Linked DNA regions of Homo sapiens: regions 1 and 2 are each linked to region 3. Evidence: promoter capture Hi-C in human tissues and cell types (Jung and others, 2019). All regions are on one chromosome and are shown on one strand. The core of a region is centred on a gene start or on the middle of the fragment in contact, and the rest is flanking DNA. Distances in the headings are between cores, read along the strand shown.

What was found. Contacts are between HindIII fragments. The study calls those that stand out against the background at their distance.
Region 1: a contact is called between a fragment that was not itself captured here and the fragment with the promoter of KAT5 in region 3, in 1 of the 25 tissues and cell types used here (spleen).
Region 2: a fragment that was not itself captured here is called in contact with the fragment with the promoter of KAT5 in region 3 in 1 of the 25 tissues and cell types used here (dorsolateral prefrontal cortex).

What each region holds. Positions count from the first base shown.
Region 1 is chr11:65,565,676-65,570,078 of GRCh38, forward strand. ZNRD2-DT (ZNRD2 divergent transcript) reads right to left here. Exons shown (of 1, transcript NR_038923.1): 1 at 3,545-4,403. Among named protein-coding and RNA genes, the nearest start is that of ZNRD2-DT, 2.5 kb to the right of the region's middle. RefSeq lists an enhancer at 4,160-4,403. The HindIII fragment of the contact is 2,559 bases long and covers 462-3,020 here.
Region 2 is chr11:65,538,102-65,542,288 of GRCh38, forward strand. It overlaps SCYL1 (SCY1 like pseudokinase 1), which reads left to right. Exons shown (of 18, transcript NM_020680.4): 16 at 1-81; 17 at 169-223; 18 at 341-603. The coding sequence ends at 465. It overlaps LTBP3 (latent transforming growth factor beta binding protein 3), which reads right to left. Exons shown (of 28, transcript NM_001130144.3): 19 at 3,499-3,627; 20 at 3,025-3,192; 21 at 2,770-2,853; 22 at 2,385-2,513; 23 at 2,144-2,281; 24 at 1,912-2,052; 25 at 1,619-1,780; 26 at 1,447-1,527; 27 at 1,227-1,358; 28 at 458-1,130. The coding sequence ends at 979. Among named protein-coding and RNA genes, the nearest start is that of SCYL1, 15 kb to the left of the region's middle. RefSeq lists enhancers at 1-407, 408-911, 2,517-2,811, 3,028-3,077 and silencers at 1,768-1,967, 2,018-2,777. The HindIII fragment of the contact is 9,195 bases long and covers 1-4,187 here.
Region 3 is chr11:65,710,166-65,714,369 of GRCh38, forward strand. It overlaps KAT5 (lysine acetyltransferase 5), which reads left to right and starts at 2,087. Exons shown (of 13, transcript NM_182710.3): 1 at 2,087-2,280; 2 at 2,601-2,669; 3 at 2,757-2,893; 4 at 3,183-3,338; 5 at 3,428-3,502; 6 at 3,609-3,683. The coding sequence starts at 2,103. RefSeq lists enhancers at 1,643-1,762, 1,793-2,102 and silencers at 2,133-2,322, 2,333-2,412. The HindIII fragment of the contact is 8,771 bases long and covers 1-4,204 here.

The sequences.
Region 1 (4,403 bases), core at 491-2,990, 140 kb before region 3:
AAACGATGGACACTGAGAGTTGGGATTGGAAATGAGATGAAACTACCTTCACGCTTGATAAATCAGGGGGCCCTTCTGCCCTGCCACTCTTCCCCGCCTTTTGAGCACGGGAGAAATCTACTGGTAAGAGCTCAGGCTCAAGAGGTACACTGGCTGCCAGCCGGGAGCCCCAGCCCTGCCACTCCCAACTGGGTGACTGTGGATACATCTCTCACTACTCCAGGCCTCAGCCTCCTCATTTGCAAATTGGGAATGATGATAAGACCTAGCTGCCAGTGTTGTCCTAAGGAATAAGCGAAATACTTCATAAAGAGCTCTTAACACAGTGCCTGGCCCAAAGAAAACACACACACCAAGTTGAGTGTGATTATTTTTATTGTTGTATCATCCAGCCACTTCCTGTTTCACAGAAATGTCAAGGTGATTCACATTGCAGTGAAAACCAAAAAAAAAAAAAAAAAAAAAAGAATAGCTGACCCCTTTTCAGTGCCTGTGTGAAAATACAAATGATAAGTTACGTTTTTCAGAGGCCAGGCAACATGGCATAGGCCACTTGTTGCCATGTGAACCATCCCCACCAAATCAGCCAGCCCAGGGGGAGCTGTAATTGAGCTGTGCATGACTGAGCTGCTGTGGGGTGCTCTATCACCCAGAAAAGAGCCTAACTACAGCCATGTCATCAGTGCCACAAGGAGGGACCAATTTGGACTGGCTCACATGAAACTGTGATTCCCTTCCCTCCCCCTCCCCCTCCTCCTTTCCCTCCTTTCTCTTCCCTGACTCCATGCTCTGTTGCCCAGGCTGGAGTGCAGTGGCAGGATCTCCACTCACTGCAACCTCCGCCTCCCAGTTCAAGCAATTCCCGTCTCAGCCTCATGAGTAGCTGGAACTACAGGCTCGCACCACCATGCCCAGCTAGTTTTTGTATTTTTAGTAGAGATGGGGTTTCACTATGTTGGCCAGGCTGGTCTCGAACTCCTGACCTCAAGTGATCTGCCAGTCTTGACCTCCCAAAGTGCTGGGATTAAAGTTGTGAGCCACCATGCCTGGCTGAAGGTGTGATATATTGTCGGCAAGGGAAGGGTGTGAAAGAGCCCAAGCCCATTGCTCCACAGACACTGGCCTGTCCACTGTGACTGCTGCGAATAGGTTTTACCACCAACACCTGTGAGCACCTTCTATGTCAAGGACTGTGAAGCATCTGAGATCTTACCCACTTGCAAGCTACCAAGGTAGCCCGTCAGGTTCAAGAATGCTGGCAGAATACAGGAGAGTCCTGGGTCAGAGACAAAGGACTTGATCGCTGTGCAGCAAACAGCATGAGCACCAGCATATTTCCGTTAGTTCCTTTTGACCCTAAGTCCCATGGGGGTGATGCTGATGGGCTCAGGCAAGTGTGGGCACACAGAGCGAATTACATTGTGGGAGAGGACCCTAAGCTTAGGAAACTCAAAGCCAGTAAGCATGGCTGTCCTTTGCTCTGGAGGGAGACACTATCTCCATCTTCCATAGCTGTTCCCTAGATAAACATCTTTGAAGCTGGCGCGGTGGCTCAGGCCTGTAATCCTACCACTTTGGGAGGCTGAGGTGGGCAGATCACCTGAAGTCGGGAGCTTGAGACTAGTCTGGCCAACATGGTGAAACACCGTCTCTACTAGAAATAAAAATTTAAAAAATTGGCTGGGCGCGGTGGCTCATGCCTATAATCCCAGCACTTTGGGAGGCCGAGACGGGCAGATCACGAGGTCAGGAGATCGAGACCATCGTGGCTAACACAGTGAAATCCTGTCTCTACTAAAAATGCAAAAAAAATTAATCGGGCGTGGTGGCAGGTGCCTGTAGTCCCAGCTACTTGGGAGGCTGAGGCAGGAGAATGGCGTGAATCCAGGAGGCAGAGCTTGCAGTGAGCCGAGATCGCACCATTGCACTCCAGCCTGGGCAACAGAGCAAGATGCCGTCTCAAAAAAAAAAAAAAAATTAGCCAGCTGTGGTGGCGCATGCCTGTAATCCCACTCCAGTGGGTGAGGCACAAGAATTGCTTGAACCTGGAAGGTGGAGGTGGCAGTGAGCCGAGAATTGCGCCACTTCACTCCAGGTTGGGTGACAGAGACTCCATCTCAAAAAACAAACAAGCAACAAATAGGCATAAGTGGCCCCATTTTTATTTTGAGTCAGGGTCTCGCTCTGTCACCCAGGTTGCAATGCAGAAGCCTGATCATGGCCCACTGCAGCCTGGATCTCCTGGGCTGGGAGCAATCCTCCCACTCAGCCTCCTGAGTAGCTGGGACTACAAGTGCATGCTACTGCACCAGCTAATTTAAAAAATACATATATTTCTTAGAGATGGGTTCTTACTATGCTGTCCAGGCTGGTCTCAAGCAATCCTCCTGCATGTCCTCCCAGAGTGCTGAGATTATAGGTGTGAGCCACAGCACCTGGTCTACTGGCCCTGTTTTACAGATGAGAAATTGAAGTCCACAGCGATGAAGTAAACTACTCCAGGTGATACAGTAAATAGATCCAGGATCAAACCCAGGCCTGCCTCATTCCAGTTCTGCGTCTTGTCCACCCTACAGTGGAACTTAAGATGGTGAGAGGCCCTGAGAGGAGAAAAGGGACAAGAGTCCTCTTGAGCAGTGGGAGAAGAGGGATGCAGGAAGGATGGGAGATGTGTGTGCATCTCTCTATGTGTTGTCTGGATTTGGGGGGTCAAGGACCAGATTTATAGGACCTTGGAGACCATAACAAGGACTTTGGATTTTTGTCTAAGTGTGATGGGAGATGCCAAATGGCTTTTTTTTTTTTTAGATAGAGTCTCACTCTGTTGCCCAGGCTGGAGTGCAGTGGTGTGATCTCGGCTCACTGCAACTTCTGCCTCCCGGTTCAAGCAATTCTCCTGGTTCAGCCTCCCGAGTAGCTGGGATTACGGGCGCCCGCCACCACACCTGGCTAATTTTTGTATTTTTAGTAGAGAAGGGGTTTCACTATGTTGGCCAGGCTGGTCTTGAACTCCTGATCTCAAGACATCTGCCCGCCTCGGCCTCCCAATGTGCTGGGGTTACAGGCGTGAGCCACAGTATCGGGCAGCCAGATGGTTTTTAGTACAAGAACGACACTGTATTTTAAAATAATTATTCAGTTTCCTGCTTATGTGGGGATATGTAAGGTTGTCATGAGGAGTAAATTGGAGAGATTAAGTGAGAGGACTCATGTAAGGCTCTTTGTAGGTGCGAGGCAGAATAGACAGTTGAGTGGATATTGGCCATGATGGTGACATAGTCGGCGCACTGAGGAATTCAGGGTAGGGCTGGGAGCTGGAGACGGTAATAACCTGGGGGTCTGTGCATACAGGCTGGAGTCCAAGAGATGGTTCAGAGACAGTTCCTCTAGTCAGCCTCAGGCTAGGTGCTGTGGCTCTTCGCTGTAATCCCAGCACTTTGGGAGGCTGAGGTGTGAGGATCACTTGAGTCCAGGAGTTGGAGACCAGCCTGGGCAACATGACGAAACCCCATCTCTACAAAAAATACAAACCAAACCAAACAAACACACAAAAAACGGTGGCTCTATTCAGCCTGATAGAAACGACTTGTGGTACAGGCCCTAAGTCAGGTACGCTGCTGCCCAAGAGCCTGACTGGTAGATGGAGATGTGAAAGGGACACAGGGCTCTCCACGTAAGCAGGAGGCAGCAAGAATGACAGTTCCAGGGGTTCTACGTGGAAGGAAGAGGGGGCCAGGAGGAAGGGACTTCAGGTCAGATTGAGGGGGCATGTGCCATCCGGAAGAGGAGAATGTCGATGTAACTGTGAAAGTCCAAGTCCTAGCTGCTTTTCCACTGCCCTGGTGTACAACCTCAGGCCCTGCAGACTGCACATCTGAGGACCCCTGCCTGCCCTGTCTGGCTTCTCTGAATCTAATAAGGGAGAAGATGCGTTTGAAAAAGAACACGGAAGAGGGAGAGAGAAAAAAAGCACCAAGGTCCATGTTCAGAGAGCCCTGGTAATTTTAACTTGCAACTCACCCAAGAAGAGCCTAATGGTCGCAAGAGTATGTAGGAAGGCCCCAACCCGACCCGGCCCAGCACGCAGCACCCAAGGGCGGCTGGAAGCGCAATGCGCGTGCCCAGTACAGCGCTATTCAGTCTGCAGGCTTTTTGAGGATTTCAACTTCAAAGAACGGTCGGCTTCGGGGCGAACTTTGCTTCAGTTCCAGGCCTCGGGAGGCAGCGAGGAGACAGACTGGGACACCGAGCATGCAGAAGGGGAGTGGTCTTGAAATACGCGGAAAGGGAGAATGCACCCCTCCTGGCCAGCCTTGCCGGGCGAAGTGAGAAGTACTGAGGCCTGAGAAGGCTCCACGCGTGCGCAAAGGGCCGCTCGCTGTGATTACTGGGGTGGCGATGGT
Region 2 (4,187 bases), core at 1-2,500, 170 kb before region 3:
AGCGAGTATAACTGGGGTGGCCCAGAGTCCAGCGACAAGGGCGACCCCTTCGCTACCCTGTCTGCACGTCCCAGCACCCAGGTACCCAGCACAGGTCTGGCGAGAGGGTAGAGATGGTGGACCTCAGCCAGAAGTGGGCCCCACTGCAGCCCACACTTCTCTTTACAGCCGAGGCCAGACTCTTGGGGTGAGGACAACTGGGAGGGCCTCGAGACTGACAGTCGTAAGTGCTTCCCCTGGGTGGGCTGAAGACTAGGGCTCCCCGACTAGCCCGCCCCTACAGGCCCCCGGCAGGCACTGGCTGGAGAGCTGAGACCGGGGCTCCCCTTCCTGACGCCAGGACAGGTCAAGGCTGAGCTGGCCCGGAAGAAGCGCGAGGAGCGGCGGCGGGAGATGGAGGCCAAACGCGCCGAGAGGAAGGTGGCCAAGGGCCCCATGAAGCTGGGAGCCCGGAAGCTGGACTGAACCGTGGCGGTGGCCCTTCCCGGCTGCGGAGAGCCCGCCCCACAGATGTATTTATTGTACAAACCATGTGAGCCCGGCCGGCCCAGCCAGGCCATCTCACGTGTACATAATCAGAGCCACAATAAATTCTATTTCACACCCCTTGTGCCGGGCTCAGTCTAGCCCCTGGGAGGCGGCTGGGGTCTGGCGCCGCCCTGCGCAGCCCGCGCCCACGTCAGACGTGAACATCAATTTGCTTCGAAAGCCAAGGGTAAAGAGGCACGATCTGATTTATCAGTTTCTAGGAAACACCCTCTGGGAGGAAGGCAGGCAGCGCCCGCCGGAGACCTTACAACCGCCCGCTAACCGGGGAGGGGGGCCGGTAGGGGCGCCTCGGGTCTCAAGGCGCCGGGAGGGTCTGCGGGCCCTGAAGGTCCCTGGGTCCGAGCCACAAGTCGGGGCAGAAGTGAGGCCGAGCTCGCGGAAATCCCTCAGTGATCACCGAGGTCTGGGCCGAGGGCGGCGTCGGCGGCGTCAGCGGCGGCGCTGGGGAACGCAGGCCCCGTGCGGGCGGCTGCGCGCGAAGCCGGCTTTGCAGACGCAGCGGAAGGAGCCGCTGGTGTTCACGCAGCGCTCGCTCTTGCACAGCAGCCCGCGCTGGTTCAGCTCTCGGCACTCGTCGATATCTGAAGGTGAGGGCGACAGGTGCGGCTTCGCTGAGCCTCCAGGCGGCTCCTCACCACCGGCCCCGCCCCTGCCCCCACCCCCGAAGCCCGGCTCACCCACGCAGCGGGCGCGGGAGGCGTCGAGCTGGAAGCCGCCGGGACACTCGCACACGGCGCCGCCCGGCCGCGGCACGCAGCGGCCACTCACGCAGCGACACTCGTCTGAATCCTCCTCTGAACTGTCCTCATCTGCGTGGCCCGGAACAATATGGACTTCAACACTGAGCCCCGGCCAAAGGCTACCAACCCCGCCACCGCCCGACCCGGCAGCACTCACCTCTTGGGGGCTTCCCCAACAGCAGGGGGCTTGTGTCCCAGAAGGAATTGCTCTCGCTCTGCGATGTCGGGCAATGGGACCCTGGGAGGAGCAGAACTGGTCAGCGACGTCCGGGTCCCCGGGCCCTGGCCCCCATCCTCGCTCCCGGCCAACTCCTCCCCGACTGCCTTACCCGCGCCGCGCGGCGGGCACGGTCGGCATTGGGCGCCCCAGCCGCGGCCCTGGCGGCAGCAGCAGTCGTCGAAGGTGAGGGCAGGCCCGGCCAGGGGGCCAGCGCACATGCCGTCCTCTCCGCGCTGGCTCCAGCACACGTCGCGCCGCTCCGGGGCACGCTCTGCGGAAGACACCTGGCATCAGGGGAGGGGCCCAAGGCAGGAACCGCCCGCCTCCGCCCCACCCCACCTGCGCGGGGGCCACGTGACGGACAGGGCCCCGGGATCGGCCAAGGCCAACCCTCGCCCTCACCGGCCGGGCTCTCGGGGAGCTGGCAATCGCGGCCGGAGGGCCCGGGCACCCAGGGCGGGCGACACTCGCAGCGGTAGGAGCCCGGCAGGTTGACGCAGCGGCCAGGGCGGCAGGCTGCCGGGTCCTGGCACTCGTCCACGTCTACGAACAGCGAGGGGGTGGGTGGGGGCCGTCACAGCTCGGCCCGGGCCCCGCCCCTCCCGCGTACCCCACTCCCCGGCCCGGGCCTCACCCATCTCTTCCGGGCTCAGGCACTGGCGCTGCGCGGGACTGTACTCGGCAGGGGGCGTGCAGGCACAGCGGTAGCCGCCGCGCGTGTTCTCACACACTCCGTTCCGGCAGTTGGACTCGTCCAGGCACTCGTCCACGTCTGCAGGGAGGAAAAGCGTGGGTAGCAGGGGCAGGCCCGGGATGGGCGCGGTGGCGCGTGTCTCCCTGCCGCTTCCCCACGGCCGCCGGGGGGCGGAGCTCACCCACGCATTCCAGCAGGTTCCCGTCGTAGTAGAAGCCCTGCTTGCAGTAGCACTCGTAGCCAGGCTGCGTGTTCACGCACTTGCCCTCCTTGCAAATCTCCGACCCGAACAACATGCACTCGTCGATGTCTGCGGGGTGACAAACACTGGCCGCTCCGGTCCCGCAGCTGCAGCCCGGAGGCGTGGGCTGGGCGCACCACCGGAGCGAAGCCATCCCCGGGCGGGGCCTACAGGAGGGGCGGGGCCTACAGGGCGGGGCCTGCGAGGAAGGTGCGGGCGGGGCTTACCCGGCGCGGGCAGCTGACCCAGCGAGTCCCGGCGGGATCCGGGCGAGCCCAACCCGGGGTGAGAGGGCGCGGGGCGGGCGGAGCCGCAGGGCGCTTACCACGGTGGGCTGGGATGCCGTAGTTGACGATGTTGTTGTCCTGGGTGTAGCCCTTTCCGTCTGGGCAGAGGCTGTGGAACTCGGCTGCAGGGGCAGGGCGGCCGTGGGGAGGGAAGAGGCAGGACTGAGCGCGCGCGTGGGCTTAGGGCTGCAGCCCGCCGCCTATTTCCCAACTGCCAGGGGGCGCCATTTCCCACATTTGGCTTCCAGATGAAGAAACTGAAGATCTGGGAAGGGGCCTGCCCGGCTCCTGACCTGAGCTGTAGACTGGGCAGGGGTAGATTTCGCAGTGGTCGCCCCAGCCGGCCCCCAGAGAGCAGCAGCACTCCTGCTGGGTCACGTTGGTGGCCAATACGCTGTCGCAGAACACTGTGTCATCGAAGTTCAGGTAGCACTCCTTCTTGTGGTGGGGCTGCTCCACCTCTGAGGGGCAGACGGCAGCTCAGGGTTGTGCACAGACCCCCCTTGGCCCTGTCCACCCTGCCCACCCACCACAGGTCTTTCCCCCCACATTCCCTGGCTCCCCTTAGCCTCCTCCTGAGAGTTGGCTCTGTTCTCAACGTGGTGTTCTGGACCCTTCATCGTCTGGCCCCACCAGACTCCCCCAGCCAAAAGAGATTTCTTCCGGTTCCCCAAATTTAGGAGGGTGGGGCCAGGACACATCTCTGAATCCCAGCTGCAGCTCAGGGGAGTTGTCCAGTCCGAGGGAGGAGCTGGGAGGACACTCACCCTCACAACCGTGCTGGTCCTGGGTGGGAGTGAAGCCCTCATCGCAGACACACACATAGGAGCCCTGAAGGTTCTTGCAGGCCCCATGGGGAAGGCACAGGCTCGGGTCCTGGCTGCACTCATCTATGTCTGCGGGGCAAGAGTAGCGCAGCTGGAAACCCAGCCCCTCTTTCCCTGGGGCTGCACCTCAAGGGCCTCACACAAGTTCAGAACCTGAATTTCCACTTTGGTTTCAAAGTATGTACAGCAGGAAGTCTGCTGTGTCTGTGCATGTGTCTGAATGTGCATGTGGACATTAGCTGCTGTCCTTCATAACACCTTCAGTGGCTCCCACTAACCTTACAAAACCTAAAAGTATCAGAAGCCCAAATGGAAAGGCCTCAAATGCAATTGAGCTTCCGATACCTTTAGGTCTCATCACGCCTTACTCTAGACCACCCTCCACTCCCCAACTCTGTGCTCAGGGCACCCTCCCCTCCTCTGTAAACACAACTAGCTCCTTCCAGATCTCTATGCTTTGCAATTACTGCTCTTTGGTCCTGGAATGACTTCTCGTGCCTTGCCTTTCCCATGCCTAGGGAACTCCTACTTACGTTTCAGTCCAGTTCAACATTCACCTCCCCATTGCAATTAATCATTAGTCTATACCTTTCTTGGCACCCAGGACCCTGAACTGTCAGAATCAGTTT
Region 3 (4,204 bases), core at 837-3,336:
GCAACCTCCGCCTCCTGGGTTCAAGCAATTCTCCAGCCTCAGCCTCCCGAGTAGCTGGGATTACAGGCGCGCACCACCACGCCTGCCTAATTTTTGTATTTTTAGTAGAGATGGGGTTTCATCATGTTGGTCAGGCTGGTCTCGAACTCCTGACCTCAGGTTATCCACCTGCCTGGCCTCCCAAAGTGCTGGACTCGCCCTGAATTCTTTATTGCACGAGATCCAAGAACCCTCTCTTGGGGTCTGGATGGGGACCCCTTTCCTGTAACACTGGGATTATAGGCGTAAGCCACCATGTTCAGCCACCTTTGAGGCAGGAAAATAGGGTCTGGAGGCAGGGAACATATAAGGCTGATTCACACTTCAGTTATGACAGGAAATATCCTCTCCTTAGGGAGTACACCCTAAATGACTTTGTAACTTTACTTCATCCTCTTCATTTACATATGGCATATCCCAAATAACCAATGGAATCCTCCAAAGGGTATTTAAACTCCAACAAATTCTGTAACTGGGCCCTTGAGCACCTATGCTCAGCCGGCCCCAACACTGGAGTGTACTTTCATTTTCAATAAATCGTTCATTCCTTCCTTGCTTTGTGCATTTTGTCCAATTCTTTTTTTTTTTCTTTTTCTTTGAGACAGAGTCTTGCTCTGTCTGGAGTGCAGTGGCGCAATCTCGGCTCACTGCAAGCTCTGCCTCCCGGGTTCACGCCACTCTCCTGCCTCTGCCTCCCGAGTAGCTGGGACTACAGGCGCCTGCCACCACGCCCAGCTAATTTTTTGTATTTATTTTTAGTAGAGACAGGGTTTCACCGTGTTGGCCAGGATGGTCTCAATCTCCTGACCTCGTGATCCGCCCGCCTCGGCCTCCCAAAGTGCTGGGATTATAGGCGTGAGCCACCGCGCCCAGCCGTTTTGTCCCATTATTTTAGATGCCAAGAACCTGTACACCCTCCACCGGTGACACCTTCACAGTTTTGAGGAGTATTCATGGGGTATTTTGTAAAATGTTTCTCAATTGGGATTTGTCTGATGTTTTTCTCATGATTAGACTGGAGGCAGCTGGGATTACAGGTGTGAGCCACCATGCCCAGTCTCCAAACCCTGTTTACACAAAAATTTTAAAAAACTAGCCAGGCTTGGTGGTGCGCGCCTGTAGTCCCAGCTACTAGAGAGCCTGAGGTGGATCACTTGATCCCGGGAGGGGGAGGCTGCAGTGAGCGGAGATTGTGCCTCGCTGGCTGCACTCCAGCCCGGGCGAGAGAGCCAGACCTTGTCTCAAAAAAAAAAAAAAAAAAAAAAAAAGCCTAATATGGCTGAGGGCGGTGGCTCACGCCTGTAATCCCAGTACTTTGTGAGGCCGAGGCGGGCGGATCACGAGGTCAAGAGCTCTAGACCATCCTGGCCAACATGGTGAAACCCCGCCCGTACTAAAAATACAAAAATTAGTTGGGTACTCGGGAGGCTGAGGCAGGAGAATCGCTTGAACCCGGGAGGCGGGGGTTACAGGGAGCTGAGATCGCGCCACTGCACTCCAGCCTGGCGACAGAGCGAGACTCCGTCTCAAAAATAAATATATACAAATTAAAAAAGCCTAATATACAAAATAAAGCTAGGAATCTTCCCTGAGTCCTCTTGCCTACGGAATGAAGTCCACAGACTTGGGGGAGCGTTCGAACCCTTCTAAGGCCACTTCCTTTCTCCAGCCTCTCGCGCCCAGTTGACTCCCGGCAACACCTCCCGCCGCCACAAGGAGACGCCCGAGGACTTCCCTCCGACAAAGCCAAAAACGGTATTGCCACGTGACCCGCTCCGCATACACGTGACCAGCTTCGCACCCGGTGGGCGTCACGTGACGGACTCAGTAGACCGCCACTGGCTGTGCACGTTATGGGGTTTCCACCTAGGGCTCGGCCTGAGGCTTGTAACACTCCGTTTTCCCCCGAGTCACAGGGGCAGTCTTGCCCCTCGCAGCTGGGTCGCGGTGTCTCTCAAAGGTCCCCCTCTACAGGGGCTTCGTGAGGCCCGGGCCCACAGGGCGCTCGGTCCCGGAAGTGACGTCTCCCAGAGGGGCCGGAAGTGGCAGTGGAGGGAGGGAAGATGGCGGAGGTGGTGAGTCCGGTGCCCGGGGCGGGGCGGAGGGAGCCAGGGGAGGTGGGTAGAGCCCGAGGCCCCCCAGTAGCCGACCCTGGCGTCGCGCTGTCTCCCCAGGGGGAGATAATCGAGGGCTGCCGCCTACCCGTGCTGCGGCGGAACCAGGACAACGAAGATGAGTGGCGTGAGTGACGTTGGGGGGCGGGACTAAGGAACCTGAGGGCGAGGGGCGGGAGTCAACTGAAATCCCGGGATGGGGAGGGGCGTCTGGAATTATGGGGCGGGCGAGGCGCAGATACTTTGATGAAGGGGCGTGGCTCTTAGCTGCTCCGAGAGGTACAGGGCGGGGCCTGGAAAGGGGTGGCACTTGTGACTGAAGGAGGCTTAGGAGAGACCTAAGTGCTGGAGCTTAGGGATCCGGCCTGGGGGTGGAGTTCAGGTCGTGGAAGGGTGGAGTCTCATAGCCTGGCCTGTCTAAGGCCCCTGTCTATGCTATTCTCATAGCCCTGGCCGAGATCCTGAGCGTGAAGGACATCAGTGGCCGGAAGCTTTTCTACGTCCATTACATTGACTGTGAGTTCTGGGCCTGAGGTGGGGCATCAGGGTAGGGTTGGGGGACAGTCTTTGGCATTCTGTCCTGAGCCATCCCCACTGCTACAGTCAACAAACGTCTGGATGAATGGGTGACGCATGAGCGGCTGGACCTAAAGAAGATCCAGTTCCCCAAGAAAGAGGCCAAGACCCCCACTAAGAACGGACTTCCTGGGTCCCGTCCTGGCTCTCCAGAGAGAGAGGTGGTGAGTAGGTCCCCCACTTCACCTTTTCTCTCCTGCCTCCTATTTCTCTTGTCTGTTGGCATTAGGAGCTCCTGGATGGGCAGGAGGCGGCTCCCTCTCACCCTGACTTCATCTTGCAAAGGATGGGGGCCAAATTGCACATGTAGCTCCCAGAGTCCAGTAGCTAGTCCTGTGTCCTTCAGAAGGCGAGGGTGGGGTTTGATAATTTTGAGGTGAGGGACCCCTCTTCCCCTTCCCCATCCCACTGCCATCCCCGCCCCAAAGGAAGACCCTGGACCTATCTCTACAGCCGGCCTCGGCGCAGGCCAGCGGGAAGACCTTGCCAATCCCGGTCCAGATCACACTCCGCTTCAACCTGCCCAAGGAGCGGGAGGCCATTCCCGGTGGCGAGCCTGACCAGCCGCTCTCCTCCAGCTCCTGCCTGCAGCCCAACCACCGCTCAACGGTACCCTCAGCAATTCCAGGGACCTTGCTTTCTTCTCAGGTCCCACCTTCTCTACCTTCTGACCCACCTTTGTTGGTTTCTCTCTGCAGAAACGGAAGGTGGAGGTGGTTTCACCAGCAACTCCAGTGCCCAGCGAGACAGCCCCGGCCTCGGTTTTTCCCCAGGTGAGTTCCCCAAACCATCTCTTGTTCTCTTCCTCTCTTCTACTCTCTGGTGGCTTTTTTCAGGCTCATTTCACAGCCATCCCTTCTTTTCCTACTATCTCGGCAGAATGGAGCCGCCCGTAGGGCAGTGGCAGCCCAGCCAGGACGGAAGCGAAAATCGAATTGTTTGGGCACTGATGAGGTGGGTCTGGGGAGCAGCAGAAGGGAACTGGGTGAAAAGGAAGGGATGCAGGCAGGGTGGAGAGTTATTTAGTGATGAGTTTAAAAATAAAGAAGGGGTGGTGGGCAGAGCTAGTGTTGGTGGGATTAGGAGACAGGCAGAACATTGTTCAAATGAGTCATTGGGGCCGGGCACCATGGCTCATACCTGTAATCCCAGCACTTTGGGAGTCCAACCAAGGCTGGTGGATCACCTGAGGTCAGGAGTTTGAGACCAGCCTGGCCAACATGGTGAAACCTTGTTTCTACTAGAAATACAAAAATTAGCCAGGCGTGGTGGCGGGTGCCTGTAATCCAGCTCGGAAAGCTGAGGCAGGAGAACTGCTTGAACCCCGGAGGTGGAGATTGCAGTGAGCCAAGATCGCGCTACTGCCCTCCAGCCTGGGCGACAGACTGAGACTCCATCTAAAAAATGGGGTCATTGGGTGATCTTTTCCACATCATCGATCCTTTAGGGTTTCAGGTTTTTTATCTGGAAATTGG